Linked DNA regions of Homo sapiens: all the other regions are linked to region 1. The links are contacts of gene promoters, found by promoter capture Hi-C in blood cells and fetal thymus (Javierre and others, 2016). All regions are on one chromosome and are shown on one strand. The core of a region is centred on a gene start or on the middle of the fragment in contact, and the rest is flanking DNA. Distances in the headings are between cores, read along the strand shown.

What was found. Contacts are between HindIII fragments. The CHiCAGO score rates a contact against its expected background, and 5 or more counts as called.
Region 2: a contact is called between a fragment that was not itself captured here and the fragment with the promoter of SFXN4 in region 1, in 8 of 17 cell types (activated CD4 T cells, total B cells, endothelial precursors and 5 more). The highest score is 9.1, in activated CD4 T cells.
Region 3: a contact is called between a fragment that was not itself captured here and the fragment with the promoter of SFXN4 in region 1, in 1 of 17 cell types (non-activated CD4 T cells). The highest score is 5.8, in non-activated CD4 T cells.
Region 4: a fragment that was not itself captured here is called in contact with the fragment with the promoter of SFXN4 in region 1 in 2 of 17 cell types (total B cells and naive CD8 T cells); the score reaches 6.3 in total B cells.
Region 5: a contact is called between a fragment that was not itself captured here and the fragment with the promoter of SFXN4 in region 1, in 8 of 17 cell types (total B cells, endothelial precursors, erythroblasts and 5 more). The highest score is 6.8, in total B cells.

The regions. Positions count from the first base shown.
Region 1 is chr10:119,164,328-119,167,070 of GRCh38, reverse strand. It overlaps SFXN4 (sideroflexin 4), which reads left to right and starts at 1,357. Exons shown (of 14, transcript NM_213649.2): 1 at 1,357-1,534. The coding sequence starts at 1,424. RefSeq lists silencers at 1,209-1,678, 1,720-1,906. The HindIII fragment of the contact is 6,667 bases long and covers 1-2,743 here.
Region 2 is chr10:119,496,948-119,499,647 of GRCh38, reverse strand. No RefSeq gene overlaps it. Among named protein-coding and RNA genes, the nearest start is that of RGS10, 44 kb to the left of the region's middle. The HindIII fragment of the contact is 2,474 bases long and covers 62-2,535 here.
Region 3 is chr10:119,654,986-119,657,685 of GRCh38, reverse strand. All of the region lies in intron 1 of BAG3 (BAG cochaperone 3), which reads right to left. Among named protein-coding and RNA genes, the nearest start is that of BAG3, 5.0 kb to the right of the region's middle. The HindIII fragment of the contact is 765 bases long and covers 961-1,725 here.
Region 4 is chr10:119,426,968-119,429,667 of GRCh38, reverse strand. All of the region lies in intron 6 of GRK5 (G protein-coupled receptor kinase 5), which reads right to left. Among named protein-coding and RNA genes, the nearest start is that of MIR4681, 50 kb to the right of the region's middle. RefSeq lists a cis regulatory region at 220 and an enhancer at 136-305. The HindIII fragment of the contact is 3,735 bases long and covers 1-2,700 here.
Region 5 is chr10:119,515,223-119,517,953 of GRCh38, reverse strand. It overlaps RGS10 (regulator of G protein signaling 10), which reads left to right. Exons shown (of 5, transcript NM_001005339.2): 4 at 2,302-2,445. Among named protein-coding and RNA genes, the nearest start is that of RGS10, 26 kb to the left of the region's middle. RefSeq lists enhancers at 1-152, 942-1,524 and a silencer at 2,290-2,503. The HindIII fragment of the contact is 2,507 bases long and covers 115-2,621 here.

The DNA.
Region 1 (2,743 bases), core at 108-2,607:
TGGCCAGGCCAAGGACTTTAGGTTCTGTTCTGGGGTGGGGAATGTCAGGAAGGATTTGAAAAGAAGAGTGACATCAACTTGTTCTAAGAGAATCACTCTGGCTCCTTTGTTAAGACGACATAGCAGTCCAAAGTGGGGAAGCAGGCCAGCGGGCTGGCTTTGTGACATCCTGGAGGGTAGAGACAACAGAATAGAACAGCACGCTACATACTGCACTGGTGCTTAGATGGATTTCTGCGGCATAAGGGTAGAAGTGGAGGGGGCACCTTACTCAACTCGGAGGGTCAGGGAAGGCTTCCTGGAAGAGGAGATAAACCCCTGGAGGTTAAGAAAAGTGAGCTAGGCAAACTGAGCAAATACAGAAGCAGAGTCATACAGGCCTGAAGGACGCCATGAGCCAATTTCCTGTTCCTGGAGGCGCAGGGCAAGGGAAGGAATTGGCCCGCTGGAGGTTAATGGCCAATACTGAGCACTTCTGAGGGCTCAGTGCTGTGTTAGGGATGTTTTATCTCCTTTGATCAGAAACAAAACCCTGAGATAGGTACAATTGTTATCCTCATTTTGCGGATGGGAAAATAGACTTCGAGATACTGACTTGGCGAGGGTCACACAACTAGATGATGTGCTGGGTCCCCCAGTCCTGGACTCCGGAGGCCCCCTGAACGACCTAGGCACACTTGTGGCTTCCGTGAATTTAAGTGCACACAGCCCCCGCCTGGCCCTGTGCTGGGGAAGGGCAGGTGGGAGGAGGAAGGGAAGGCAGGTTTTTCTTTACAAATGGTACCTATTTGGTAGTCAACAAAAGGAACTGGATTTGCCCCAACACTGGAAGAAAAAAAAAAACAACCTGTTGGGCTGAGGGATAGTGCACTGTGCCCAGGGCCCTATACTTGGTTTGATGCTCTGGTGTTACTCTCTTGAAATTCTCAGTAACATGAATAAGGGGCACCGCATTTGACATTTTCCCTGGGCTGAGACCATGATGCAGCCGGCCTGACTGCGCAACACCATGCACACTGGAATTCGTGGGCCATCGGAGGGATTTTCGAGGGTAATGACCAGGGGTAGGGCGCGGCAGAAGCGCAGGGTGAGGTTGCGGACGGCCTCACTCACAACCTTTCCGGGTCTTCGCATTAGGTACTGTGATGACGGGTTCCGATAGTGACCCCTTGGGGCCTGGAGACGGCCCGGCTCCCCAAAGGTGCGGAGCAGGGCAAGCAGGGTTGGGAGGACGTGGCCCGTGGGAGAGCTGCGCTCGCCGGAACAGTGGGCGCGCAAGGGCCCCGAGGCGCTGTGACACGGGACGTCGGGCGCGCGGGCCTGGGGCGGGAACTGCGGGTGCGCGCGGCCCGGGGCGGGGCTCGCCGCCCGGCTCCTCCTCCACGCGCGGCCTGGCGGCGGCGGCCACTCTAACCAGCGCAAAATGTCCCTGGAACAGGAGGAGGAAACGCAACCTGGGCGGCTCCTAGGACGCAGAGACGCCGTCCCCGCCTTCATTGAGCCCAACGTGCGCTTCTGGATCACCGAGCGCCAAGTACGGCCCGGGCCCGGCGCGACTAGGGGCAGGGAGGGGGCGGGCCGGGCCGCGTGGAGTCGGGCTGACCCGGGTGACCTTGGCCAGGCCACGTGGGCGCCCCCTGTCTCCGTTTCCTCCTCTCGGAGTTGTGCCGGGAACGCGCACCACCGGCCTTCACCCCTTAGGGCGCGGCAGGGGACGCAGGGGAAATCGAAGCTGCCAGATGCCCACGACCACAACGTCACCCTCCAGATTGCCCTCTCGGAGGGGCCCAGTCCGCGCAGGTGGCTGCTCCCTACTGCCTGAGCTGTGGCTGAGCAGCAGATTGGGGAGAAACAGGCTCTCGCACCTTGGTAAGCTCAGCCACTTTCGGTGAGACCCCCGAGGCTTTGGGAAGCCACCCTTGGGCAGGACATAAGCAGGACTTATCTCCCTGCAGCGTCTAGGGCAGCACCGTCCAATAGAAATATGATGTGAGCCTTACAGGTAATTAAACATTTTCTAGTAGCCACATTAAACAAGATAAAAACAGCTGAAATTTTTAACAATACAGTACATTTAGCCTAGCAGGTGCAAAATATTAACATTTCAACATGTAATCAGTAAAAAACATTGCTGAGATATTTTACTCGCTTTTTTGGTACAGAGTGTTCCAAATCCGGCGTCTGTTACCTTCACAGCACATCTGGGTTCAGCCGCATGTGGCGAATTGGAGAGCAGGGCTTTAGGGGGTTCTCTTTGAGGCCTCTCCTAAAGTGGGGTCCAGCCCTGTTTTTTTTTTAGGTGGGGAAATTGAGAAGGGGCGGTGAGCTCAGGTTGCTCCAGCAGAGCCAAGGCTTAAAGCCAGAACCACTACAAAGTTTAGAGTTTGCTGGAGCAAACCTCTTTTTCCCCAGTGTGACCCCAGCTGCACCATTGAGCCCTTAATGGGGCGTCCATCCTTTGTCACTGGAGTGAAGCCTTATAGCAAGCAGAGAGTGAGGCCACAGACTCTTGAGATATTCTAGGCCATTGCTTCGAGGTCGTATGTGAGATATGAACGTAAGACCATTTGAACCCCCAAAGTCTGGGATTTTAACCCTCAAGGGCAATTTGATACTGAGAGGTTAAGGGCACAGACTTCTGAATCATTTCCTGGCTGTGTTGCCTTGAGTACATTCAGGAGTCCCTCTAAGCCTCAGCTTCCTCACCTGGAGAACCTGGAGAGGTTGGGAGGATCCCAGGAGA
Region 2 (2,700 bases), core at 49-2,548, 330 kb before region 1:
GCAAGTTCAGTGCTGGAAAAAGAAAATGAATCACTGACAGCCTCTAAAGACTTGGGAAGCTTGTGTGTGAGTGTCATCAAAGGGTTATTATTTCTTGTGCGTGGGTTGGTCCTGGTTTTGACCACAACCCATGACATTTCATGCAACACAGATAAATAGTTCATCTTGACAGAAACAAGATCTCAACCAGGAAGGAAAAAAAACACAAGTGGGAAATTGTTCAGGGTCCCCATGGCAACTCAAGGTGTTGTTGAATGGGATTGTAGCACAGGTGCGTACTGAGGTTGGAGTTGGTGGGGCTGTTCCCTTCTCCTGTACCCATCGGGGACACATCATAATCCTTTCCTCTCTGCTCCTGCCCTTTGCTGAACTTGCTAACTCTGGCTTGAGACTTCAACGGGGAAAAGAAATGCTGCCTTGAAGCCTGCCCTTCTTGGGTGAGGAGGCTGTGAATGGGGCACGCTTGGGCCAGGCGGGGCACGCTTGGGCCAGGCTGTCCCCGCCAGCCCAGGAACTCCACTTTTAGAGCAGAGCCCACCAGGGCCAAGGTCAGGCTCAGTTCCCTTTGGTGAATTGTTCCTGCTATTTGTAGGGGGTTGGGTGCTGCCACCAGGCCTTTTCCAGGATGTTTGCTAAGCCCTTTCTATTTGTACAAAGTGACCAGCTTCTGTTGCGTGTGAGCCTCCCAACTCAGACTTTCCTGTTTGCAAAATTCACTAATGTTGAAGGTGGCTGTATAATTTATCAATCAAACTAGGACACTTTTGGGAGAAAAGAGGGGGTGATCTCAATAATTAGACTAGGATAATGCCTATTACAAGCCCTAATCTGGTTCTAGTCTGGGTCAGTTACCCTACTGATGGCTGTCCCCCATATGAGCTCCTGGGCAGCCCCCCAGATTCCCTAGCCTCGCTGTCTAGACACTGTGGTCAAATGTTTCCTGCCCTTCCATCCAGGGCCTGGGAAAGGGATGGTCTTCAGGGAACCGTTCACTGCCAAGCACTAAATAACCCAACAACATTCATCAGAAACAGCAAACACAGGCTTCTCCACCCTCCTCAGGTACTTCCCAGACAGGCCTACTCTGCGCCTGTCTTCTCTCTGCCTATTTCCAGAACTTAGGAAGGAGACGGTTATGCTGAGAATGACACACAAGGGCCCCGTGATCAGAGAAATTCAGTTCATTGTCAAGCAGAGCAGATTGGTGCATTTATTATTTATTTTTGAGACAGAGTGTCGCTCTGTTGCCCAGGCTGGAGTGCAGTGGCATGATCTTGGCTCACTGCAACCTATGCCTCATGGGTTAAAGCGATTCTTCTGCCTCAGCCTCCTGATTAGCTGGGATTACAGGCATGCACCACCATGCCTGGCTAATTTTTGTATTTTTAGTAGAGACGGGGTTTGACCATGTTGGTCAGGCTAGTCTCAAATTCCTGACCTCGTGATCCTCCTGCCTCGGCCTCCCAAAGTGCTGGGATTACAGGCATGAGCCACCGCGCCAGGCCTATTTTTTATTTTTTGAGATGGAGTCTCACTCTGTCTCCCAGGCTGGAGTGCAGTGGCATGATCTCAGGTCACTGCAACCTCCGCCTCCCAGGTTCAAGCGATTCTTGTGCCTCAGCCTCCCAAGTAGCTGGAATTACAGGCACCCACTATCATGCCCAGCTAATTTTTGCATTTTTAGTAGAGTCGGGTTTTCACCATGTTGGCCAGGCTGGTCTCGAACTCCTGCCTTCAAGTGATCTGCCCCCCTCAGCCTTCCAAAGTGCTGGGATTACAGGTGTGAGCCACCGCGCCTGGCTAGATTGATGCATTTTAAAGAGTAAAGATGAAAAACAACACAGGTTCTCTAGCTCAGCTTTCGGTTTATTAACCGGATGCAGTTCGGTTATTCAGGGATGTGGGGACAGCCCACTGCACCATTGCAGACGTAGGGAGGCTTCATGGCGACCTGATTGACTCCCTTTGGAAGAGCCTGTTGTGGGCAGGTCCCAGAGACTGAAGGTGGGCGAGGAGGCTGCTCTCTGACTTTTCCCCTTTTATCAATGGGTGCAGAGACTCTTTGAGATGACCATCTCTTTTTAAGAGTTTGAATAAAGCAAATAGCCAGAGTTAGCCAGAAGATCGGACATTAAAAGAAAAGCCTTCCGCCCGCCCCCACTTAGGAGCTGCCTGAAGAGCTGAATGCCAGCAGGGTGGTGAGCCTCAGAGTTTAATCACCATTTACTCCTACTAGCGTGAACTTATGCCACTCCCTCTGGCTTGCTCCTGCCTGATTGCCTACGTCTATGCCAGTCGCAGAAATGAGGCATATGCAGAATTTAGTGTCCTGAAGCAATTGCAAATGTGAGGCTGAAGTGTAGGGACCCGCGTAGCCAAACAGATGCTTCTACCCAGCCCTTTGCTTTCGTCCCTATGCCCATCCATTCATCGATTAGCGTTGAAATTGTATCTTTGGCTGGGTGTGGCGGCTCACACCTGTAATCCCAGCGCTTTGGGAGGCCGAGGCAGGTGGATCACCTGAGGTCAGAAGCTTGAGACCAGCCTGGCCAACATGGTGAAACTCTGTCTCTACTAAAAATACAAATATTAGCTGGGCATGATGGCGCATGCCAGTAATTCAGCTACTCAGGAGGTAGAGGCAGGAGAATCGCTTGAATCCGGGAGGCGAAGGTTGCAGTGAGCTGCTCTCCAGCCTGG
Region 3 (2,700 bases), core at 94-2,593, 490 kb before region 1:
TTGTGCAGAGAAGGCCATTCACAAAGTGACAAAAAGGAGCAGGCCTCTGGGGACCTTTAGGAGCCCAGGACAACTCTGCAGTTCTTAGGAACCAATGGAAGGCTTCCCGGGACACACCTGCATCCTTCACGGGCAGCTCTTCTGTATCTGCCTTCGCGCTCTGGGCAGGCCCATGTTCTACCCTTCTCCACAGTCACTCGTTCCATCTTTTCTGAGCCTGTGGACCCTGCCAGGCATCAAGAGGCAGCGATGAAGCACACAGACTCTGCCCCAGAACTCCTAACAGGGGTGTGACCCCAAGACAAAGCAGAAAAGTGCAGAGCTTAAGCAAAAAGATTCAAATTAAAATAATATGGGTTCCAGAAGAGAGACAGCCTGCTTCGGACCAGGGAGAGGCAGGACATGCTTTGTGGAGAACAGTCTCAAAGTGGGCAGACTTGTCCTCTATATGGCATTTAACACTGTGACTCGCACACTGTGGGCACTCAGTGAATTTCAGATGGGGTAAAGGAGTGAGTAAAGAGTCGGGCCCATCTCCTAAATCCAGACCCAGGTTCAAGAAACAGGCCAACATTTCTGATTAACTATACAAAGATGGACTCAGGGCTGTTTATCACCTCAAGCTGTGCCTGGGGAGTATAAAGCAGCCGTGCCTGGGGAGTATAAAGCAGCCAGGCCCGCTAAAGGCAAGTCTGTCTGTCACCCCTTCAGGAACTCAGATGGGGGTAAAGCCACAGAAGTCTTTCTGTTTATCACAGGCCAGGCACACTGCCTCTCCAAATCTGCTGTCCCATGTGTAAGACACTTCATAGTTTCTAGTTCAAAGAGCTGGTGAGGATTTAGAGATAAGGTTACCAAAAGCACCCACTCATATCTGGCACATATATATATATATGTGTGTGTGTTGACAGACAGAAAAATACTACATTCATTCCTCTCCCCCCAAATTCTTCCTAAGCTTTTGCAAGCTGCCTGGCTTCCTAAAAGGCTGCCAAGGTCCCAAAGATACCTTCATCGAAATACGTGACGACTTAGTAACACCAGATACCTCACATGGTATCACATGTGCCACATGATGCATACAGATGAATCCTGCACCTGCAAAACAAGGGGCTCTGGAGCCTGCCTCAGACGGCCGGCTGATGGGCATGGTGGCGCTCACCTATAATCCTAGCTACTTGGGAGGCTGAGGCAGGAGAATCGCTTGAACCCAGGAGACGGAGGTTGCAGTGAGCCAAGATCGCACTACGGCACCCCAGCCTGGGAGACAAAGTGCGACTCCGTCTCAAAAAAAAAAAAAAAAAAAAGAAGGCCAGCTGAGTCTATGCTCTGAGGCAGAAGCAGATCAGAGGTGTCTACTTGACTCACAACAAAAGGGAACCCAGGAGGGGCTGGAGAATAACACGGTCAAGTGTGACACAGGGTTCACTCGTGTTCGCCAGTGCCAGAGGGTCTCAAAGATCCTAATAAGCAAGGCCTTTGTCTTCAGTTTCTTCTGTAAGCTCTCTTAAACATTTAAGAGCAATATTAAAACAGCAAAACTTAAAGGAGAAAGAGTAGGTCTGGATGATGAATGGTTTTCTACTTTGGATGATAAACATCAGAACATCATTTTTAAATGTCAATAGAAAGTAATAAACATGTAGAGTGGTTTATATAAGGTGACTGTGTGTCATTCCAGAAACGAGGACAGCACTAAGCAAGCCTCATGGGTGGTATGAAGCTTTCTGACTCACAAGCAGCCCTGATAGCATCCAACAGTTAAGCCTTCCCAGCCCTGGCCAACGTCAAACGCTGCCGCAGGTCCTGTGTACAGGCTCCACCCTCATAAAGGGCAAATCTACCCTACAAAACGGGACAAATGATGTTCTCGGAGGTGCAGTCGGTTCTCATGTGAACAACACAGGCTGTTCTTCAGAGGGGAAAATGAAAGTCCTGGATGAGCTGGGCTCCAAGGCATCTGGCCATGCTGTTCATCTGCCCCCCAACAAATCACTTTCATGCAGTCGCACAGGAACTTGCTCAGCCACAACTGCAACTTGCTGGAAATACGAAGGAGAGAACGGCCACTCATTTCCTGATTGTGCTCCGCCTCTGCTAAGAGGCATAACAGCTTGCAATAGATCTGGAAAGAGCAAAACGATCTCATCTTTAAGAAAATTCAGGAGGCTCTGCTGAACCTTAAGCAAAATAAATGGGTCTCTCTACTTCAATCATAACTCGAAACATTTCCAGTGTTATCTGAAAGGATGTTTCTATCTCCCTGTCACAGTGCCTGAGTATAATCTGTTAAATGATTATGGTGAGATTCTGCCAGATGGGCAAGACAAAAAGAAAAGGCTCTGGCTTGCTTCTTCCTGGGGTCCAGGAAGATCTCTGGACCACCTCCCCACTCTCGCACTGCCAGCCACCCTGCCAGACTTTGCAAGGTGCTGTCTCGGCTCGCTTCCCATGTCATCCCCATATTCACACCTCCAGAAGCCCGCGTACCTGGGGAGTTTCCCCAAGAAGGAAAATGGAGGCTTGGGAAAATGCTCTGCAGGATAGATGTTCAGGAGGCACTAAGCCGCAGCTCCTCCTCCCCAAAATGGGATCACTGGCCATCCGTGGCTCCCACTGCCAGTGCAGCAGAATCAGAACCACCAAAAAAGCTTTCTGGACTTAATAGTTTTCTGGGCCCTACACTGAGCAATTCAGATT
Region 4 (2,700 bases), core at 178-2,677, 260 kb before region 1:
TGATCACCTCGCGTCTTCCAACTCCTCGTTTTAATGAGCCAAAGCCATTTATGACATTGAATCAGACAGAACTTCTGATCATGAGGCATGATGGCACTTTTTGGACTAAGCAAAGACATGGTCCTATCTAGTTGCCATAAAGGACATCACGGTGCAGAGGGCTTGTGGTTTGCATTGCTGGTCTGTTTGGCTACAAATAATCAGCTTAAAACGTGAAAATTGGCTCTTGGCTCTCCAAGACTAAACTCCTGCTCCTAAATTCCTCAAAAGTCCCGACCAGGGCAGGGGTTGGATCGAGCAGAACTGGGCCAAAGAACTGGGTCAGCTGAGGATGACCAGGGAGCCTTCAGTCACCCAGCAGCTCTTGAACGAATGAGTCTTCCCTGGAAATCACATCTGTGGCACCACAGCCGCACTCTGAGGAAGGCCCTGAAAAGCCAGGGTACTCTCTGGCACCCCATCTTGAATTTGCGTGCCATGGCTCACTTCTCCCTTCACCAGTGCTTCCTCAGGACACAGGGCCCAAACCCCACCGAAGCAGAGCTGCCCCTCTGCGGGTATCCCGCTCTTCTGCACAGGAGCGGCTGGACAGCCAAAGGGAAGAGCTGCCACACGCCTGCCTCGACCACGTGGCCCTGGGAAGCCTTCCCTACAGCCGCCCCCGGAAACCACATGAAGGCGGCCCGCCTAACAGTTTACGATGCATGGAGGAGAAACGGTTGGTTGACATCTCCGCAGAACTCCTCTGCTGGGGGAAATGAGTGGAATGCAAGCTCCCAGGAATTTCTTGGTTAACCTTGGGAGGAAAAAAACCCTTGACTATTTCAGCAGTACAGCACCAACCAGGCAGGATCTTGTGCAGGGTGCTATCTGATATGTAGGGCATTCCTAGGCCAGGGTCCTGCCCTACAGGCTCCAAAAACTTAATGCCTTCTTTGCAATCAGGCCACAGAGTAAAAAGGATAATTTCTCCATTTCATGTGTTTGGTGCAGATAAGAAAAAGGAAAGCCAGTGACCACCGACAAAGGCTGCTATGGGAACTGGAGTGCTGGGTGGACCAAGGCCCAAGGACTTGGGAGGGGGCCTCTGGGTTCAGGTTCCAGCCTTGCCAGGCCCTTGCTGAGTGGCCCAAGGCTGCTCCAACTCCTCTGAGGAAAATGATCATGAGAAGGCCTTACATCCAGTGGAGGGCTCTTTGTAAACTGGTGATGTGTCAGATGTCATTATTTGAACTCCTAGGAATAAAGGGCATGCCCCCCTCTGGGGGTCTCTATAGTAACAATACCTACTGCTCCAAGCACACATGGGGGCTTCTATAATCCTCACACAAGCTCAGGGAGCAGGGATCATTATTGTCCCCATTCTGCAGATGAGAACGCTGAGGCTTCAAGAGGTGAAATGAGTTGCCCGAGGCCCTAGCTGGTAGCGGTGGGCTGGAGTTGGGGTCTAGGCAGCCCATGCTCTGTATCCTGACCCCACACTGCCACTCTGGGAAGGTGGACACAGATTGGGGTTGTGTGTTGCACAGCCCAGGGCTCCAGAACCGGGCGTGGGCATGGCGAACACAGCTCCACTAGACTGCCCTGTAATTGGCAGAATCAGGACTGATCCTCCAGCAAGAGTTGGCTGTGCCTCCCAGTATCAGACCTGGTGAAGTGGGACTAATGGCAGTGATGCTGTTGATGGCGGTGATGCTGATGATGGCAGTGAGGCTGATGATGGCAGTGAGGCTGATGATGGCAGTGATGCTGACGGTGGCGATGATACTGATGATAGCAGTAATGCTGTTGATGGCAGTGGGATATTGATAACAGCAGTGATGCTGATGATGGCAGTGATGCTGATGATGGTGGTGATGCTGTTGATGGTGGTGATGCTGATGATGGTGGTGATGCCGCTGATGGTGGTAATACTGATGATGGCAGTGATGTTGACGATGGTGGTGATACTAATGATGGTGGTGATGCTGTTGATGGCACTGGGATATTGATAACAGCAGTGATGCTGATGATGGAGGTGATACTGATGATAGCAGTGATGCTGATGATGGCAGTGATGCTGATGATGGTGATGATGCTGATGATGGTGGTGATGCTGATGATGGCGGTGATACTGAGGATGGTGGTGATACTGATGATGGCGGTGATGCTGCTGATGGCTGTGATGCTGATGATGGCGGTGATGCTGATGATGGTGGTGATGCTGATGATGGCGGTGATGCTGATGATGGCAGTGATGCTGCTGATGGTGGTGACGCTGTTGATGGCAGTGATGCTGATGATGGTGGTGATGCTGATGATGGTGATGATGCTGATGATGGTGGTGATGTTGATGAAGGCAGTGATGCTGTTGATGGCAGTGATGCTGTTGATGGCGATGATGCTGAAGATGGTGGTTGATGCTGATGATGGTGATGATGCTGATGATGGTGGTGATGTTGATGAAGGCAGTGATGCTGTTGATGGCGGTGATACTGATGATGGCGGTGATGCTGATGATGGCGGTGGGATATTGATAACAGCAGTGATGCTGATGATGGCAGTGATACTGATGATAGCAGTGATGCTGATGATGGCGGTGATGCTGATGATGGTGATGATGGCAGTGATATTGATGATGGTGGTGATGCTGCTGATGGCTGTGATGCTGCTGATGGCTGTGATGCTGTTGATGGTGGTGATGTTGATGGCGGTGATGCT
Region 5 (2,731 bases), core at 119-2,618, 350 kb before region 1:
GCAGCTGCTCACAGTGGGCATCTGGTCAGCCAGGGCCTTGAACCCCACATTGTTCTCACGCAGACTCAGGAGGGACAGCCGGTGGAAGAGGGCAGGGCTGAGACCCTCAAAGCTTATATACCTGCAGTCACTGGAACCTACTTCCTCTCCCCCGGCCTCTTCTGCCCCACCTCAAAGACTCAAGCCATTCATTGCACTTCTCTATTTCAGAATCACTCAAGATATCCTGGATTCATGTGTGTATGTGTGTGCGTGTGTGCACGTGTGTGCGTGTGTGTGTGCGTGTGAATGTCAAGGGGAGGAGGGGAGGTCTAAAGTGATTTCTGCCCCCAGACCTCTGCATGGAGTTTGCTCATCTGCCTGGCCGAAATTCTCCTTTCATGAAGTGGCTTTAAAACAGGAAGTGGTTTTCCAAAAGGGTTGCTTCCTGACGGAATGGGGGTGGTGGAGGGAGGCTGTGGCTTCATGGAGCTGGTGGGTCTTGGAGAGGACAGCAGGGCCAGCTCCTAAGTGCCACCCCCTTGGGTCTCGAGGATGGCCCCCAGACCTGTCCCTTAGATAGCCACGCTTGTCTGGAGAGACTCCTGTGTCACTGAGTCTGGCATCGATTCATTGCTCCTATTGACAGTGAAGACAGGGTGGACAGCATGGCTTTCGGTGTTCACCCAACCTGGGCCGTCTCCCTGCAAGTGCTGGTGAGGCTTGCTTTCTCGCAGAACAGGACATGGCCAGGCCGTGGCTTCTCAGGATCTTTTGTCCCCAGTGCCCTGAACTAAAAAAGGGCTACCCTTCCTTCCTTTCATGCCCCAGCTATCAAAACCTTCTGGTGGTTTCCTTAAGGGCAGAAGGTTTGCAGAGCTTGGGATTTCCCAAACCAAGCCCCACAGCACATGCGGAGCCCCAGTTGGGCTCTTGGAGAGAAAGGCAGTTTTCCAGGCCCCCCACACACATGTCATAGCTGTGTGGCTGCATTTTAGAGGCATTTGTTGTCTGCCTTGCTCTGTAGGGTAAGGTCATGCTTTAGACTCTAACGTTCAGAGAAACAGCCCCGCTTTTGCTGTTGGCGAGGTATGAGCACAGGAAGTCTCCTTTCTCTAAAAGAAAATCGAGCCCTCAGGGGAAGTTCTGGAGGAGAGGGCTCCTGCGCCTGCAGCCCCGCCCTGAGGCGCCTGTCCTGAAGACACAGTTCTCACTGTGAAGTCATCTCCTTACCATCAGTGAGTGCTCCTGAGCCAGCCTCGGTTAGTTTCGGGTGAAACAGGAAGCCGGTACCTACTCACGGCTCCTGCTTCCCAGCAGGACTGCACTCGGGACTTGAGGGCGGGCAGCGAGTGTTTTCTCCACTGCTGTGCTCAGTATCTCGTTAGCTAAAAGGAAATGCACCCTGCCTGGGAAGGCCGCATACCGCACAACCTGGAGGGGCCAATGTGTCTTGCGGAAGTGGAACTGAGCAGAATTCAGAGGCCTTGGAGCCAAACAGTCCTAAGGCTCCCGGAAGCTCTCAGATAAGCCATGCCACCTCTCCTGACCTCTGTGTCCTCATGGGGAAAGTGGGGCTAACAGGAAAATGCCCTTTGCTGCATGTCCAGGGGATTAAGGAAATGGGATCCCTCCAAGCAGGTGCCTGCAGCCCAGTGGGCGCTTAATAACTGGTAGGGATAGTAGGTGTGCATACTTTAACTTGATTTTTTTTTTTTTTTTTGAGAGACAGTCTCACTCTGTCACCCAGGCTGGAGTTCAGTGGTGCAATCTCAGCTCACTGCAACCTCTCTTTCCTGGGTTCAAGCAATTCTCCTGCCTCAGCCTCCTGAGTAGCTGAGATTACAGGTTTGCACCACCACGCCTGGCTAATTTTTGTCTTTTTACTAGAGATGGGGTTTCACCATGTTGGCCAGGCTGCTCTCGAACTCCTGACCTCAGGTGATCAATCTGCCTCGGCTTCCCAAAGTGCTGGGATTACAGGCATGAGCCACTGTGCCCGGCCACAGGATGGCTGTAAATGGTACTGAGTGCTCTCTGCGGGCCAGGATTCTTTCTGTCATCACTTCTGAATGGTTAATGCAGCAATTTTGTTCCAGGAGAAGTGGCTGCAGGCGCATGAAGGGGCGGGGGTAGGGGCTTGGCAGTGCAGGCTCTCCCATATAGAAATTCTCTCTGGAGTGGCCTGAGAGCCCCTGGGCTGTGGGGGGTGCCTTTCTCTTGCCACAGCAGCTCCTGTGGGCCTGGCTGGAGGGGAGAGCAGGGCTCAGGCCGGGAAGGCTGTGTGTGCAGATAGCACAAGGCCCCATCTGTCTCCTCCAGATGCAGGAAAAGGCAAAGGAGATCTACATGACCTTTCTGTCCAGCAAGGCCTCATCACAGGTCAACGTGGAGGGGCAGTCTCGGCTCAACGAGAAGATCCTGGAAGAACCGCACCCTCTGATGTTCCAGAAACTCCAGGACCAGGTAACCCGACTTCCCTGCCTGCACCTTGATTTGAAAACCTACATTAATTCCAGGCCTGGAAGAATTTACTGAAACACCCGATGTTAGACTCCCTGGAAACCATCTCATACGGCCGGGCAGACCGAGGTACACTGAGGGGCCATGGTTGGGGAGAGTGGGGACCAGAATTCTAAGCTTGAGATTTGCCCCACAGGAGTCCCCCCAGGCCTGTTTAATCTTGGTCTACACACAGTTTAGACCAGTTTATCTGCCTTCTCAGTCCAGATTAGAGGGGAGGCTGGAGCTA